2 separate regions of the Homo sapiens genome follow, and region 2 is linked to region 1. Evidence: promoter capture Hi-C in 16 types of primary human blood cells and fetal thymus (Javierre and others, 2016). All regions are on one chromosome and are shown on one strand. The core of a region is centred on a gene start or on the middle of the fragment in contact, and the rest is flanking DNA. Distances in the headings are between cores, read along the strand shown. Region 1 holds the start of JAK1 (Janus kinase 1). Region 2 holds the start of GADD45A (growth arrest and DNA damage inducible alpha).

What was found. Contacts are between HindIII fragments. The CHiCAGO score rates a contact against its expected background, and 5 or more counts as called.
Region 2: a fragment that was not itself captured here is called in contact with the fragment with the promoter of JAK1 in region 1 in 2 of 17 cell types (naive CD8 T cells and total CD8 T cells); the score reaches 7.2 in naive CD8 T cells.

What each region holds. Positions count from the first base shown.
Region 1 is chr1:64,964,496-64,969,177 of GRCh38, reverse strand. It overlaps JAK1 (Janus kinase 1), which reads left to right and starts at 2,629. Exons shown (of 25, transcript NM_002227.4): 1 at 2,629-2,845. RefSeq lists a silencer at 2,405-3,284. The HindIII fragment of the contact is 15,152 bases long and covers 742-4,682 here.
Region 2 is chr1:67,681,349-67,685,512 of GRCh38, reverse strand. It overlaps GADD45A (growth arrest and DNA damage inducible alpha), which reads right to left and starts at 312. Exons shown (of 4, transcript NM_001924.4): 1 at 1-312. The coding sequence starts at 18. RefSeq lists silencers at 49-208, 399-458, 469-648 and a cis regulatory region at 2,411-2,903. The HindIII fragment of the contact is 1,492 bases long and covers 1,222-2,713 here.

The sequences.
Region 1 (4,682 bases), core at 1,380-3,879:
GTTTTTGCATGGGATTCAACTTTTCTCATTCCCCAGTCACACAGCATATACTTATTTTTTTTTTTTAAGAGAAGGGGTCTCACTCTGTTGCCCAGGCTAAAGTGCAGTGGTGTGATCCTAGCTCACTGCAGCCTCAAACTCCTGGGCTCAAGTGATCCTCCAGCATCAGCCTCCCAAGTAGTCGGAAATACAGGCATGTGCCACCATGCCCAGCTAGTTTACCTTTTTTTTTTTTTTTTTTTTTTTGAGAGGGAGTCTCGCTCTGTCGCCCAGGCTGGAGTGCAGTGGCACAATCTCAGCTCACTGCAAACTCTGCCTCCCGGCTTCAAGCGATTCTTGTGCCTCAGTCTCCCAAGTAGCTGAGATTACAGGTTCCCGCCACCACGTCCAGCTAATTTTTGTATTTTTAGTAGAGATGGGGTTTCGCCATGTTGGCCAGGCTGGTCTCAAACTCCTGACCTCAAGTGATTGGCCCACCTCGGCCTCCCAAAGTGCTGGGATTACAGGCGTGAGCCACTGCACCTGGCCTTTGTTTGTTTGTTTGTTTTTATTTTAGAGACAGGGTCTTGCTGTGTTGCCCAAGTTGGTGTCAAACTCCTGGCCTCAAGCAGTCCTCCTGCCTCAGCCTCCCAAAGTGCTGAGATTACAGGCATGAGCCGCCACACCCAGCCAGCATATACTATTACTGCCTGAATATGCCGCTACCTCCTGACTCCTGCCTCCTGTCGGCTACTTGAAGCTTATTCTGACTTCCTCAGACTCGGCTGGGTGACTGTCTTCTGTGATCACCATTACAGGACCGGGAATCACTGAATTGTTACTTGCCTGTCTCTCTGACTGCATTGAGCATTCAGAGGTCAGGAACCTAGTCTATTTTTTTTTTCTCTGAATCTTCATCACCTAGCACAATGTCTGTTATAGACGAACAGATCTAAACTGAATCCAGGCCCTCTCCCCCTGATTCCACCCTGTGAACAGCCAGATTCGTTCGTGGGCACAATGGGTTCACTGCTGCCTTCCTGACTTTCCTTTTTCTTTACATCCTCACCTGAAATGCTGTTCTTTCACGTCTCTGTCTCCCTTCATGTCAGTCTCACCTGTTCTTTATGGTCCAGCTCAATAAAAACCCCTACCACTTCCTGAGCCCATGCCATGTGGGCTATATTATCATAGTTCACCTTCAGCAAAACCCCTTTAAGGAAGGCATTATCCCTATTTAACAGGTGAAGAAAATGATGCAAACAGCCCTGAGGTGTTGTTCAGAGTGTGGCAGATGAGACAAGACTTGCACACAAACACCCACAATGCAGGCAACCCGGGTTGCCTCCCTGTCTGCTCTGATCTCCGGTCTTCTTTGGTCCTCTTTTCTGTACTTCTGGAAGGCACTTTGGAGATCCTTTTGTCTGCTGCTCCACTGAGAATTGAGTCAACTAAGAATTGTTTAGGGCAACACAGGTGGTTACTGGTGGAGGCCAAACCTCAAATTCAGTAGTCTAATTCGGATGCTTGACTTTATTCCACACCCAGAATATCTTGCTCAGTTTCAGTTGCAGTAACTCAAGTGATCAGGAACTGTCCAGCAGGGTTAGTGAAGTCAGCACAGGTGGGGCAGCCTCTGTCCACAGCCCTGAAGCTGCAGAATTCTGACCGTGCACGGCCTCGGAGGATTTTCATCCAGGGATTGTCAGGGGGAAGTCGCTGGAGTGTTTTAAGCATGGGAGTGTGTGGAACAGATTTGAATTTTTAAAAGTTCATTGTAGAGAATTAATTGGGGGCTGGAGTGAATGGAGTGACGATTTAAGAGATGTTCGTGGTCCCTTCAGGTGAGAGATGGTGGCAGCTCGGACCGTGTTGCCGGAACATAGACAAGTGAACTGATTGGAGAGATACCTAAGGAAATAAAATTGTTAGGATTTGTCCGTGGACTGCCTACGAAGTATGAATCTTGGCTACAGTGTGACCTTGATTAAGACACTAAAGACTTAATTTGTTCCTCATGGATAAGATGATGCTACTACTTTGAGAGGTTATTAGTAAAAAATGAAAAGCGCTGTACATGCATTAGGTATCAGTGAATGTAGTTCTAATTCCTATTATGCATATGCTTTTTTTTTTTTCGTAAAGAGCTTTTAAAATACGGAATGGGTTGGATCTGCAGTAGCTTGTCCAAGCTGGGGGCTGTATTGTTAAATTCTTTTTAGTCTAGTGCTCCACTAGCTCCTCTCCTACTGAGCTGGGGTAAGAAGCGGAGCGTATACGGAGGAGGCGGGATGCATTTCTGCATCGAGCGCACAAAGGTGTGGCGGAGGGGGCTCCAGAGCTGGGAGGGGTCAATCTACGGGCGAATCCTGGCAATTTTACTCCCCGCGATAGATGACCTCGCGTCCTAGATGAGTTTCTAGATTCTAGAATCTAGAGGACGCGGTGAACAGAGACGAGTGGGGGCAGCTTCGCGAGCGAAGCCGGATGGGGGCGGGGCGGGTAGGCCGGAGGCGCAGAGTCTCCGCCGGGACCGCGACCCCGCCCCGCTTTCCGGGGCTGCCGCTGGTGACGTCGCGAGGGGGTGGGCCCGGCGGCCACGGGGGTGGGGCCGGCCGCGGGGCGGGGCGGGGCGGGACGGGAGGCGGTGCGTCGCTGAGCGCAGGCCGCGGCGGCCGCGGAGTATCCTGGAGCTGCAGACAGTGCGGGCCTGCGCCCAGTCCCGGCTGTCCTCGCCGCGACCCCTCCTCAGCCCTGGGCGCGCGCACGCTGGGGCCCCGCGGGGCTGGCCGCCTAGCGAGCCTGCCGGTCGACCCCAGCCAGCGCAGCGACGGGGCGCTGCCTGGCCCAGGCGCACACGGAAGTGGTGAGTGTCACCGGGGGAGGTGGAGGAGCCGGGGCGGCCGCGGTCGGCAGGCGAGGGGCGCGCAGCCCGGACTGGCCGGAGGCGCGGCCACCGCTCTTGGTCGGTCCTTAGGCTGCGCGGCCCGGGCTGCTCCTGAGCGCAGCTCAGGACCCCGCGGCTCGGGCGGGGAAGGCGGGGATTTCCAGCCCCGCGGAGCCGGCGGGCGGCGAGGAGGTCGCCGGGCGGGGGCCCCCGGCCGGGAGAAGAGCGGTTAAGCCAGGCCGCCCCCTCCCCCAGCGCGCACGGCAAGTTTTCATAAACAAGCCCGGAGCGCGCTGTCTGACATCCTGTTTATACCACCCCGAGATACAGGCGCGGGCTGGAGGGCTGACGTCCCTAGCTCCTTGTACCGCGAACTTGACCGCCAGCTCCCGGCCGGGGTGGCAGCGCAGAAAGGTTTTCTTCTTCGGCCCCAGGAAGGAGGCTGAGGGTCTTAGCTTTTTTCCTTCCTTGCGGTCTCAGCGAGGGAAAGTTTCTGGGATTTGGAGCTGGGTGTTGGGCGTCCGCGAACTCGGGAAACGCCCCCTCCCCTCTTAGGTTCTGTTAGGAACCAGGCCTCAGGTAGCCAGCGAGAAGTGGGAAAGGAGACCCTGGGCGAGAGGACCAGGGAAGGGGAACAGTGGGAGAGAACTACCCGGGGAATTGCGAATCCCACTGGAAAGGGACTGATTAACCGAAACTGGGGCTGGTCTCTGGCTCCCTCACTCCAACTCCATCCGCGCATCGTCGGCGACCGGGAGCATCGGAGGACTAATAGACACTCCTCCAAAGTCACTCCCCAGGGTCCCTGGGATGTGGGCTCCTTGGATGTGTGTTTACCACGGAACTTCTAGATAAAAGATGCGATGTTTGCCAGGTGTTTGTGCACACGTTTTTTGGAGGGTTTGCACTCCATGATTTCCTGTGTGTTCCTGGGGAAGGGGACCCCGTCCTTCCTGCCACTCTTCTTACTACGTGGCTGTGAGCTGCCTTCTGCCCCTGGTTGAGTACATCGCTATACATGTCATTGACACTTTTCCCCCCAAGTCATAGGGTTTTTCTCTCACTGGCAGGAATTTACAGTGGTATAAAATTGTCATTACTTCTTTCAGGGAGTAAAACATGGGTAGTTAAGTGATGAGAATAATGCAGAGAGAGATGTAAATCAGGGCGTGTTTGGTTTTGGCTATTTTTTTATTTTTTGAAGAAAAGATTTGAGTTAAATATGGGTATAGGCACAGTAGATTTTGTTTAAGATGAGCAATTCGTATTGATTGAATCTTTGTTCTTCCCTTTCCAAAACCCCATTATGTGTTGTTTCTTGATTTTGCTTTTGGTGACTCTGATGTTTTCCAAGACCAGGGGATTATTTTCATTGAAGGATCAATGTGTTCTTTTGTACTTTGTGGTGAAGATTAATGGAGACCACCAGGGTTCCAGACATTTCTGGTACAATATGCTTTGTAATGTGGAGAAAATGTCTCCCCTGTATAGATCCAGATCACATTTAAAGATGTGAAGACATCATACTGGAATGACTTTGGACATTATAAATAGGAATAATCATAACCTCTTCTTAATTCTGTATATCATATTAACTAAGTGCTTTGACTGAGTCTTAGTTTCTGCAAATAGATACAAAACTATGTTTTTTTACTGCTAGGATTGCAGTGTGATACTCCACACTGAATACAGCCAGTTTAAATGGTTTCCTCCATTTCATACTATACTAATTATTTACTACCATTGGGAAATGATTGTAGAGAATGCATAAATTAGATATAGGTAAAATAATTCAAACATTTCCTAAAATATAACT
Region 2 (4,164 bases), core at 718-3,217, 2.7 Mb before region 1:
GAATTCCTCCAAAGTCATATTGCAAACTGCAGGTCGCCCAGGGAGAGAGCGCGGCGTGCGGGCTGCTCCTGCCACGGCTAGCGCGCGGGCGCCTGCTTTCTGCACTCACTCACAGGCGCCGCTCCGGCAGCTCAGGCCCTGGCGCTCTCCGGCCGCCCCTCGCCCGCCCGGGCTCCTCCTCCTGTGCCAGCCGCCGCAGCTCCGGCCACCCCTCCCGCCTTGCTTGCTCGCTCGCTCCCCGGACCTCGCCTCGCCACGGGCCGCACGACACTAATTGGGCCGCTGCCTCCCAGCCACTGCCTACCAGCCACTGGAGGACAAAGGGCCCCGCTCTCCGGGGTTATCCTGCCAACCCTCAGCCAACCACCTTCCGCCTCATTTGCATGCAGCTTGGCCATTGGGCTATGCAAATCAGCCTGCTCCAGCAATTTGACCCCAGCTCCTGGAGTCAGGTTGAGAGGAGCGGAAAAGGGAGGAGCCACGCGGGAGGCGAGCCGAGGGGGCGGGGGCGGGGGCGGTGCCGAGAGGGGAAGGCGGGTCCCGCGCGCACTCTTATCCGGTTGGCGGGGACCATTGGGAGTGGGGGGCTTTAGCAGAGGCTAGAGGTGGCCTCAGCTTGGGCTGAAGCAGGCTGCCAAGTGTTTTTCTATAATAGTTGCGGCACTTTTTTCTTATTATCTTTTCATGTCTTTTGTTTTAAGGGGTGGCTATTAAAATCTATTTCCAGGGTTAATGCACTGAAGTCTAGTAATTATTAGTAAGCAGGTTACATTAAAAAAGTGTCTCCAGACCTCCGGGGCAAAGTTTACCTCAGAAGTGTTGTTTATCTAAGTCTAGGCGAAGCTGCTTATTAGCAGTAGTATTATTTCGGTGCCCTGATGGCTGGTTTGATTTATTTTTGGAAAGCTGCAAGGGTTGGAAGCTGAAAAAAGAAAAACCAACCCGTTTGTATTCAGGGATGGCAGGGAACCAAGTTAGAATCTTTTCCACAGAAAGCAGAACGGTTTCCCACCTGCCCGGTGTAACTGGGAAATCGTGAGCTGGTCTGCGTGGGGAGCTGGTGACCACATGTGGGAATCCCTGGCAACCCAGATTCTCCTTTCTCAAAGAGCCTTGCCCAAACAAGGATCCTTCTGGACGCCCACCAGCTGAGAGACAACCATCTGACACCCACACAGCCCACAAGTCTAAATTCAAAATGCTCTCGATATGCCCTAAGCTTCCTTTCCTAACGTATGTATGTCGTTACCTTCCACAGAGAGCCTCCTATGATCTCACTGTGAATTATTGATGTTAGATGCTGAATCATGAAGCTGTAACTATAGGAAGTTTTTAGTCATATGCTAAAATTTCACCTTTGAGATAATGGCAACTTGTAGGTGGAAAGCAGACCTTTAAAACTGCAAATGGTAGTTACACATTTTTGAAAAACAAACTTTAATATATAGACTCTCACTGAGTAGTTCAAAAGTCCCTTCCTTTGTTTTATGGTTTATGCAATAAAAGCAAAAACATTTCTTAAACCTACTGAAGTCATCAAAAGTGGTGAAAATGGCTCCCACATGCTTGCATTCAAAACAGTGCTTGCATTATTAAGGTTGCTGTACAGCCAAAGGTCACAGAAGTAATTTCTGCAAAGGTACCTGGAAGTTTTGCACCCTTATGTTTTTATCACTCTAGACAAAATATTCTCCAGCTCTCTTGATCTTAATTTGGTGGAAAAGAAAAGTGATAGGTTTTCTGGTTCATTTATTTGAGTTGTCATTTTGCACTCATTTTTTCACTGTGTTGTCAGCCATGGACAACATTTGAGTAAAGAAATGGTCATGGTCAGTGCATAATTCACCTAAGCATGACTATGTATCTCATATCTATGCCTTAAATCTTAACATTTGATGTCTTTCTTAAAGAATTCCTCAACATTGAAATTTAGGTAGGTTACCGAAGCATTTTCAGTTTTGCAGACAAAACCTGAATTACACAATCTAGCCTGAGTCATCATTTGGCGATTGTTAATATGTTCCGTGGAACTCCAAGGTTCTATCCACTAGGCATTTCTTAGAGGTTCTTGGGAAGAAAATGTGATCACAGCAAGCTGACAAAGAATTAGGGAATCATGTGAGTTTCTTGACAGCAAGGACTTCATCAGTTTGGTGTCCTCAGCTCCTAGTACAATACCTGCATTTAGTAGAAGCACAGTCAAGGTTTATTGAGTTGAATAGAATTTGAGAGTTAAATAAGATATCAGAATCCTGCAGTCCTGTGCATTGCATGAATTCTAACATATTGCACATTTAACGTTAGTTCAAAAACACTTTTGCCTGTCTTCTTCTATACCAAGAACTGTACAATTCCTGGTCCTTTGCCTTTAAAGAGCTTAGGCTCTTATTGGTATGTCCATGCTTGAACTGGATTTTGGGACAAAATAGTATGCACTGTCATCAGCTAGCTATGCTGAAAGTCCCATGACTTCAGTCATCTGAATGGAGGCTGTAGGACAGTAGAACCGGTGTATTGTTTACACCAATTCAAATGAACCACAGTCCTAAAGTGCCCCACCCAAGTCGACTATATCCAGTAAAAATGTGATATCAAATGGTTACTTCTTATTATAGGCTTAGTCCTCCACTCAAAAATTATACTGCATGCTATATTTGACTTCATCAGAAAGTTATTTGCCCAAGTATTTTGGGGATTTTCTCTGAGATAAGCTTGGGCTTCCAGTATGCAAAAATATTCATTTGTCATACTTTCTGACTCAGATACGTTACATCATTTTGCCTGATTGCTGAGTATACCTAGAATGTTTTCTCAGTGATTATCTTCAAAGTTGGGCCTCATGACTGGAAGTAAAAACTGCATTTAGCTACACAGTTAGATTGTAGTTACACATTAGAATGGACATAGTTGATTTATCATTAACTGTTTATTAGTCCTGGAGGACATTGATAGTCAATGGTAAATCAGAGAAATTTTCCTATATCAATATTATATATATATATATATTTCTTTATAATCAGTGTGATAACTCCAATATGTGATGTCATTTTAAAAACCACTACAGGTAACTCTGACAACTGCCAAGTACACAGGAGTAGAATGCTCTTGTAGTAATGTTTGTAAAGATACCAAATGATTATATTTAGAAATCATATGGAAATATATACTCAAGAATTGTTCAATTATTTTAGCACTGCTACTTGCTTTGCATATTAAAGATCTTTTTGATATTTTAGTCATGCTTATCCTACATACATTCCTACTACTGGTTCCATAATGCAGAATTATTCTTTCTTTCTTTCAAAAAACAATCAATGCTTTAACATCTGAAAGAAATATAATGCTTGTTATTTCAGTATTAGATCATTGTCCACATCAAAGGAGAAGATCAGTTCAACTATGATGGATGTATTTTCCACCTACCTAGAATTGTATTGTATTATTTTTTCTTGTTAAAAATCATAAGGTTCCTGGTCAGGTGCAGTAGCTCACGCCTGTAATCCCAGCACTTTGAGAGGCTGAGGAGGTCGGATCACCTGAGGTCAGGAGTTCAAAACCAGCCTGGCCAACATGGTAAAACCCCACCTCTACTAAAAATACAAAAATTAGTTGGGGCCAGGTGTGGTGGCTCACACCTGTAATCCCAGCACTTTGGGAGGCCAAGGCGGGTGGATCACCTGAGGTCAGGAGCTTGAGACCAGCCTGGCTAAGGAGTTTGAGACCAGCCTGGCTAACATGGTGAAACCCCAGCTCTACTAAAAATACAAAAATTAGCCAGGCGCGGTGGCAGGCACCTGTAATCTTAGCTACTCGGGAGGCTGAGGCAGGAGAATCACTTGAATCTGGAGGTGGAGGTTGCAGTGAGCCGAGATGGTGCCATTGCACTCCAGCCTGGGTGACAAGATTGAAACTCCGTCTCAAAACAAAAACAAAAACAACAACAAAAAACTAGTATAATATTCTTAATGCCATCTTTTTTGTGTGTTCAATAAATCCTTATCCTGTGGAAATTCTCTTCAGCTATTAAGAATCATGGTAGTAATCATAGTGTTAATTTGAGCTTTGGGCTGGCCACCTTGTGCTGCCATCAGCTGCTCACATTTCACCAGCCAAGCAAGGCCCAGCCAGTGGAGAAGTCAGATGAAGAGACTAACTAGAACATTC